Linked DNA regions of Homo sapiens: all the other regions are linked to region 2. Evidence: promoter capture Hi-C in 16 types of primary human blood cells and fetal thymus (Javierre and others, 2016). All regions are on one chromosome and are shown on one strand. The core of a region is centred on a gene start or on the middle of the fragment in contact, and the rest is flanking DNA. Distances in the headings are between cores, read along the strand shown. Region 1 has its middle 21 kb from the start of SPRR2G. Region 2 holds the start of KPLCE (KPRP N-terminal and LCE C-terminal like protein). Region 3 has its middle 12 kb from the start of PRR9.

The links. Contacts are between HindIII fragments. The CHiCAGO score rates a contact against its expected background, and 5 or more counts as called.
Region 1: a fragment that was not itself captured here is called in contact with the fragment with the promoter of KPLCE in region 2 in 4 of 17 cell types (M0 macrophages, endothelial precursors, M2 macrophages and 1 more); the score reaches 8.6 in M0 macrophages.
Region 3: a contact is called between a fragment that was not itself captured here and the fragment with the promoter of KPLCE in region 2, in 4 of 17 cell types (M0 macrophages, megakaryocytes, erythroblasts and 1 more). The highest score is 6.4, in M0 macrophages.

What each region holds. Positions count from the first base shown.
Region 1 is chr1:153,170,932-153,173,631 of GRCh38, reverse strand. It overlaps a transcript of SPRR2G not described here. Among named protein-coding and RNA genes, the nearest start is that of SPRR2G, 21 kb to the right of the region's middle. The HindIII fragment of the contact is 3,626 bases long and covers 1-2,700 here.
Region 2 is chr1:152,718,267-152,720,966 of GRCh38, reverse strand. It overlaps KPLCE (KPRP N-terminal and LCE C-terminal like protein), which reads right to left and starts at 1,445. Exons shown (of 1, transcript NM_001024679.3): 1 at 497-1,445. The coding sequence starts at 1,445. The coding sequence ends at 693. The HindIII fragment of the contact is 5,275 bases long and covers 1-2,700 here.
Region 3 is chr1:153,228,188-153,230,887 of GRCh38, reverse strand. No RefSeq gene overlaps it. Among named protein-coding and RNA genes, the nearest start is that of PRR9, 12 kb to the right of the region's middle. The HindIII fragment of the contact is 1,275 bases long and covers 674-1,948 here.

The DNA of each region.
Region 1 (2,700 bases), core at 67-2,566, 450 kb before region 2:
GAAATAGTTTCTAAGTAAGTTCATTAATAATAAATCTGGTTGCCTCCCTTGTACAGAGCACTCTATTGTGGACAGACTTCAAGCAGAGGCTGAAAGACCATCAGGAGGTATTTTAGAGCAGATTTCCATTCAATATGTGCTTCTGATCCCATGATTCCTTTTCTTATCTGAGATTTTTTTTTCTGTTTGACTTCCCTTTAGAGCCTCCATCATTTCCCTCTATTTATTTCCCTCTCTCTGTAGGACAACCTCCATATTTATTTCCCTCTGTCTGTAGGACAACTTCACTCTTTCTTATTGTCCAAACCACAGGCTCTGAAAGAGCAGCCAGGGAGTAATCGAATATCACAAGCCTGGGGGTTCTGGAAGTGTTAGCCATGTTCTGTCCCAAGGCCTTCACTCAAATTCTCAGGTCTGTGTCCTCATTTGAAGACTGTTCTTTGTGGTTTCTGAATAGCTGGGATTTGACTTCAATTTAAGTGAAGTAAGCCCTCTTGGGGTTGTAGAAAGAACGTGAGATAGGATGTGAACATGTGGATGCTAGCTTTACTGACATTAACCAGCTGTGCTGTCTGAGTGAAGTTCCTCAGTATCTCCATGACTTTATTTCTTCATCTCTAATATTGAAGACTTGTAAGAGTTCCAAAGTTAATTCTAGAATTATATTATGTTTGTCCGCCTGTCTATTTATGCACTTAACTATCCTAATTCTTTAAAACCCCACCTTGAAAAAAGTGGTCACTGTCAGTCCAACCATACAATCTTCTTCCGGCCCAGATGAAGGCTAGCCCAAGCCCTAATGGAACTCTTCTCTCCTTTTAGGGATAATCCCAGTAGCTGTCTCTTCTTCAACTTCCTGCTTCAGAGGATTAAGGTGGCATAAAAAGTAATCTTGTACCTTTGATCCCAAGCACAGTCAAACTTTTGGAAAACAAAAGGGTTTGCCCCAGTTTTCCGTTTTTTGGGTGCCTCATTCCAGTTACTAATGTGATGTGTCTAACTCTTTTTTTGTACCGGAAACTCCAGTTTTGCAGGTATTGAGTGACTAGCAAGGTTTCCATCTCCTGAGGAAGGGTAGCCTGGGAGAAAGAGGACACAGAAGCCCTTTCCCACAGTATCTCTGGGGTCTCTGTGGGGGCAGCCAAAGGAAAGGTGCAATGAGGTGCATTGGGGGCAGGACTCTTGAGTGGGGGAAGGATGTGTGCAAGGACTGGTAGGTGGTAGGTTAGTGATAGAAGACTTGAACTTATGTTGTAATGCTACAGCAAAAGTCAACCGCATGAGACCAGACCACGTATTGTGATAGGTGCCACCAGGAAAGAACTCTGTGGAATTGATAGATAAAAAGGTTCATTAGAAAAAACTAAATGGGACAGTCTGGAGAAGTAGACCTGGTCTTCTGAGCATGAGAGTTATAATTTAAGGATAGTTTTTTCAGTCAGGGAGTGTTGATAGACCCTGGAAGGTGAGAGGTGAAGTAGAGTGGAAGCCAATTCCTGGTCCTCTCATGGGACATGGCTTGACTGTCACTTGTCTCATGTATTCAGGAGGATGCTGGATACCTGAAGCTGTAGGTCGCTCCAATTTCAATGGAGGATTAAAGTTGAGTGTAAAAGGAAATTGGTAAACCAAAGAAGAAGGTCTGAACAAGTCCTTAGTACATGGCCAAAGGACAGACGTAGATACTGATAGCTGGAGTACAGGGCTGGGGATTCGGGGGGCATGGGAGGGGAGGGCAGAAGCATTGGGCAGAGCTCAAGAGGGGAATTGTGGTCTTTGGGTAATGTTAGACATCCACTAATTTCACTGGTTGATGTGTTTGCTTTGTTGTATTATTTGGTAGGGAAAACTGTGCTTATGGAACCATACCTGGGCAAAAAAAGAGACTTCACTATCTGTGCCAGGGAGATGGGACCACCATCTGTTGGCAGCTGTGAAGTTGAGAGGTGGCTGTTCACCAGAGATGAATACACAGGGTTTCCAGTCAACTTTCAGCATTTTGGTGCATGATACCCAAGCCCTAGCCAGTGGAAAAAGTGAGCAATTATCTGCTGAAGAAATGTCCGTAGTGGTGAGTGGTGGTAGGCTGGGTGGAGGAAAAGCGGTGGCATGTGCAGTGGAGATTCAGGTACTGAAAGGGTATATGGTGTGATCACACAAGTCCGTATAACCCAAATTCTCAAATGTCAGTCTGATGAATGAATACAGGGAAGCATTCCTGGGGAGGCGAGTGGGTGTAAAGGCTCCTGTAGTCCAAGAATCTTGAATGTTTATATGCAATCCATTAGCTCAATAGTAGCTGTAATTGTTATTTACTCTCTTTTTGAGTTTTAGTGTTTGTGTGTGGTAAGACACACCTGTGTTTCAAGTAGTCCCAGGACGGCCGGGAAAAGGGTGGAGGAAGGAAGGGTGTTTACCTGCTCATATTCAGAGAAACTAATTGCCTGGGAAAATTTAGGCTAAACCAATGAAGATGAGAGAGTTTCAACATTTCAGTCATACTGGCATTTAAGGCAGGTGTGAACAAATAAACACTAGTGACAAGAACAGCCTTGCCAAGCAAAGTACTCTTCCGTGAAAAGAGGGAGGATTGACCCTCCCATGTGATGTCACTGCCAAGGCCAAAGAGGGTGGAATGAGCTGATCGTGGATCCTGGATCTTCTAGGTCTTTGAGAATTTCTGTGTCAGTTGCCCATGAT
Region 2 (2,700 bases), core at 196-2,695:
CTTTTCCCTCAGGCCTTCAACCTATAGTTTCAACAGGGCAAGCCTGTCAGATGAGAAAATGTAATTCATAAAGTCCTGCATGGGTTCAAGCCCTCTGCACAGTGGTGGAGACATGGTCCAGTGATACTGACCATGACCAGTGATACTGGTCCATGAGCAGATACAATTTCACAATCTCTCCAACACCCAGGAAGATGAGGGTCTCATCATGGTCAACCCTGCTCTGAGGCTCATCAAAGGGCAGCACAGAAACAGCCCCAACCCTCAAATCTCCATTTTCAGATGCTTCTAACTTGCGTGGGAAAGTTTATTCACAGCATTCTAGAAGGCATGGGGCTCCCAGGCTGGGATTTCACCAGCTCAGTCTGCTTGTTCATGTTCGTGCAGATCTTTCCTCTAGCTGAGAAACAAGAGTAAGAAGAGAGGGATGCAGAAGAGTGCCTGATAGAAAAGCATAAATATGGACCAAACAAACAGACAGAAATTACCACGAAATGCATTCAGAGCTTTATTCATGCCAAAGTTTGGGGACTGTACTAACTCTGGCAGGCTGCCTTGGTAGAGAAGCAAAGCACAGAGGCAAAGTGATGAGGTTCTACATCACTGGCACTAACAGAGAGGGGGCCAGAAGCTGGTGCATGTTCCAGAAGGGGTAGCGGGGCAGTGCATTCTGGAGTTGAGCTGTCGTATGTTTAGCAGCAGCAGTCATCCTCATGGTCACAGCATGCAGGACCTCGGGACCTCATGGGGATAATTCCCAAACAGCAGCACCCAGAGCTGCCACATCCACAGCTGCAGCCACAGCCCCCAGAACCACAGCATCCAGAGCTTCCCGAATTCTCACAGCAGCCAGATGATCCTGTGTTGCAGTTCTGGGGCCGCTGAATCCAGCGTCTCAGGGGACTCACCCCGAAGGTCCGGGGAGCCAGACAGCAGTAGCTGGTGGAACAGGGAGCAGAGCATGGGTCAGTGACACAGTACTGGGAGGTTGAGCCACTTGCAGGAGCTTGAACATAATAGCTCTGGCAAGGAGAAGCACCCTGGACATAGCACGTCTGGGTCTGGCAGGGAGCTGGACTTTTGATGTAGGTCATCTGGCAGGGAGCTGGGCACTTCACGTAGGTTTGGCAGGGAGTTGGGCATTTTACATAGGTTGTCTGGCAGGGAGCTGGGCACTTCACATAGGTTTGGCAGGGTGTTGGGTATTTCACATAGGTCCTCTGGCAGGGAGCTGGGCACTTCACGTAGGTTTGAGTCTGGCATGGAACTTGGTACTTCACATAAGTTTGAGTAGGGCATGGAGCAGGGCCTGTCACACAGACAGTTTGGGTCTGGCATGGAACTGGGCATTTCACAGAGGCACCATTGCTACCCTGCCCAGCCCCTAGTCCCGAACCTTTCACACAAGATGGAGGGAACTGTGGCTGCTTCTGCTGGTCACACATTGTTCTGTGGCTTTGCAAAATCTGAAAAGAAAGGTTTCATTAGAACTGTAAAACCAGGAAGGTTTCTAGGGGAAACCTTCAACATCCCCTTTGAATACAGTGATTTGCAAGCAAGGCTTTCTTGAGAAGGTTGCAGACATCCAGAGGCTGTATACTTGGCAGGAGGTGGATTCAGAGCCAGGGACTCTCAGCTCAGCTTCTGTGCCTGTACCTGGCTATGTGGCTTGGTACAAGTCATCGCTTACCTCTGGGCCTCAGTCTCTATATTGGGAAATGGAGGCTTGAAATGGTGCTGCCTGTGTTTCTACCCAACTCTCCAAGCCTCCTCTCCTCTTTCTTCAGTGTCTGCATTGTGAATTACCCTTTGGAAATTGCTGCTCCCAGATGATTGACCCCTGCCACCAGTTCTCTCCAGGGTGACTTCCCTTCTTCCTTCTGCCCAGACAAGGAATACCCAGCAAAGACAAATTTATGTCCATGGACCCTGAGCCAACATGAGCCTCAAGCTGTGCCCGGTACTGAGCAAAGAACAAGGCTAAATTTGAGCAGGTTTCTACCAGGTGCTCCTTGAACCAGCTGGACTAATCAGTTGGCCTCATTAGCACATAGACCCAAGAGAGGACTGCACAATTGCATTCAGATAAGGGGATGGGGAGCCAGTTCTCTAAAGTCCCTTCTTAAACAGGAATGCCAGCTCATCGTGTCCCCCTCCCTCTCCTCTCATGCCCCAGGCTCCAAGTTTCCCACCAGCATTGCTTTCAGCCTCCTTCAGCAGATTTCCTAAGCATCTAGTCCTCGCTCACCCTTCATCCCACAGCTCTCATCCCACCCCAGCTTCCCCAAAGCTCTGTTTCTCACCATGTCCTTATCCCGTATAGAGACTTACCCTCTTTGCTGATAGGAGCAAGACTGGAAGAAGTCAGTGATCTGAAAAACTAGCAGGTGGGGAGACCTTTTATAGGGCAGCAATGAGGCAATTTAATGGCATCTAAATGAAGCACCAGAGATCACAAGGAGAAGGGATGGTGTTGCATTGGCAAGATTCCTCCCCAGTATGCCTGGCTCCTCAGTCAGAGGCAGGGCATGTCTGTGCTTGACATTGGGTTTTCCCAAACACTAGATAAATGATTCCTGTTCCCTTCCTCAGGAAACAAGTCAGTCTCCTTTTCCTATAAGTTATGAGTGATGCCTATGTGATCTGTCTCTAATGAAGCTGTTTCCAGGTCACTTGAGTCTTCAGGACTTATCCAAGTTA
Region 3 (2,700 bases), core at 62-2,561, 510 kb before region 2:
GTACCCACATATCTCCTAGTCCTCACCTCTCTGCATCCACCTAGTGGCCTAAGCCATAAACTTGGGAGTATTTCTGCCTTCTTTCTCCTCCTTTACCCCACACATTGAGTCCCCCTGCTACTCCTGTTAGTTATTCCTCCAAAACACTTAGCGTCACCCTCTTGTCTTTGTCTCCACTGCTGCCATCTACCACCTTTAGCCATAACTCTAGTAGCAGGTCCTTCCTCTCCCTATTTCATGCTTCCTCCAACATCCAGCCTTTATACATTTTGCAGATGGAATAATCTTTTGAAGCTTTGAATCAAATAAAAAGCCTCTACTGAGACCCCTTCGGGGTCTTCCCGATGCATTTTGAAAAACATCTGAACAGTATATACATGTTGTCTGAGGTTTGATGGGATACATGCTCAGGCAGGTGTGTGTTTATGCCTGTGAACAAACCTAAACAGATGCAGGTGCATATTCACCCTGGCCACAATGTGCCCACCCCAAGATAGCCCTATTGTTTAGGGTCTGGGACCCATCAGTGTCTGGCATCATGCTTGGCATTAGGTGCTCAGCAGGAGCTCAGTGAATGGATAAATGAGCTTTTGGTGTCCTCTAAGTGTAAACTCCACAAAAACAGCACTTTTGGTCTGTTTACTGCTACATCTCCAGCACCTAAAGGAAAGCTTGGCATACAGTAGCTACTCAACAAAGATTTGTTGAATGAAAAAATAAATGAATGAGAACACAATGAGTAATCTACAGATAGGCTTTGTCATTCTGGCTATTTAGGAATCAAAGGTAATGTGTTCAGTGACACTTTTGTCAGTCAATTCACATTCAAGAAAATGTTCCCTCAGATTTCCTCTCACCTCCAGCACGCTGCCATTGCCACCATCATGTAACCCATCATTTCTGTTGCTCTCACCTCAGATCGGCCTTTCCACATTACCCGAGCTAAAGAGCACCCCTCTTCCCTGGTCATTTTGTTTCATTTTCTTCAATTTCTTATTTATGCATTTGCTGAGTTGCTTTTTGTCTGTCTTCCTCCTCATGTGAGCTCTGGGAGGCAGGGATTCTGTGTATCTGGTTCGCTGCTGTAACTCCAGTGCTTGGCTCATAGGAGATTCTGTGTCACTTACTCTCACATAGGAGAAATTTGTTTTAAGGGAACAATAGAAGTGGTGGAGTCTAGATTTGAATTCCAGAAGTCTGATTCCTGAGCCTATGTCCTGAACCATTATTCGTGTTGCTCCCACCCTATAAGTAATGTAACTCTGTCTTGCACATATAGCCTTCCTCTGACTCTGTTAGATGCTGCATCTCTGTACTCTTGTCTTCTCCACATGGAGCATTGACTGGACCCGAGTGTGTGCGGCCATCTCCAACTCAGGCCAGACTGGGTGTGATTAGTAGAAGGCCAAGTGCCTCTATGGCCAGCAGGTGGTGCTGTTGGGAAGAGAAGAGAAAAGGGGTCCCCAGCGGCTTCTAAAGGAGGGAGGACTGGTTATGAGGCTGGCTTGGGAACCGGGTGATGAGGGAGGTTGAGTTGAGAAGGCCCTGCCAGCTGACCACCTCTTTTCTTTCAACCATGAATGGCGGTGGTGGCCCCCACGATACCACAGTCACCACCATCACCCCTGACCGACAACTCCAGAACACCAAGCTCCCCTCTGAGCTGGCCCTACAGGGCGAGTGGCCAGACTCTCACATGCTCGTCAGTTGAGACAGGGTCTCAAGGATGTAACCCAAACTATACATTCATTTAGTGTAAAGGTTATTCCTTCATGCATTATCCCCTGGATAGGCGACCTTAGGGGATGCCTCTCACTCCCTACCCTAGTTTTTGATGAACTCCTAAGCCATAGATTCAGTTTTAGAGATAAGTATAATAGTCCTTAAAGTATGATATTAAACATGACAGAGAGTGTGTCATCAAAGGTATTTCCCCTGGGTTAAAGCTTGTATTTTTAAACCAAGAATATGGGCATTGGAATCAGATGAGCTGGGTTTCAGCTCTGGCATTGATACTTACTGGCCGGATAATCTTGGTCAAGCTGTTAAACCTTTTGGGTCCTCAGATCATTTATCATTCATTCACTCACTTATTCCCATGTACCAGGATCTAATGGCAAACCACTGTGCCTTAGAAGAAGAGAAGTGAGTGGGAAGAGGTTCCAGTATTTGAGCAATCCCTGGGTGACCAGCCTGGCTGGACCCTCCCACCCCCATGCCTGCTCTCCATGTTGTCACTCAGTGTGGGCACTTCCTGATCCTCAGTGGCATTCAGCATTTTGCACACTCTCTCCTTCCTGACTTTTCTCTTAAATCATTGACTCCTTCTTAATCTTTTGCCAAGGGCTCTCTCTCTTCTCAACCTTTAGCTGTTGAGGTTTCTCAGGGCATGGTCTTAAGTTCCCTTCTTTTCTTAATCTATATTCTGTCACTGGATGATCTATACACCCCAAAGCTAGAATGCTACCCCTACGATGATGGCTCCCAAGTGTAGATCTCCATTCCTGAATTTTTCCCGCGCTCCTGACTCATAGATGTAAGTGCTTACTTTGTATTTCTGCTTGGTTATTCTGTATGCGTCTCAAAATTGACAGGTTCAAAACTGAGCCCCTGGTCTTCTTACCTGGACTGCACCCAAACCTGTTCCTCCTTCAGTCTTTCCCAGCTGCTTCTGGAAATGGTGGCTGCTGCTGCACAGAG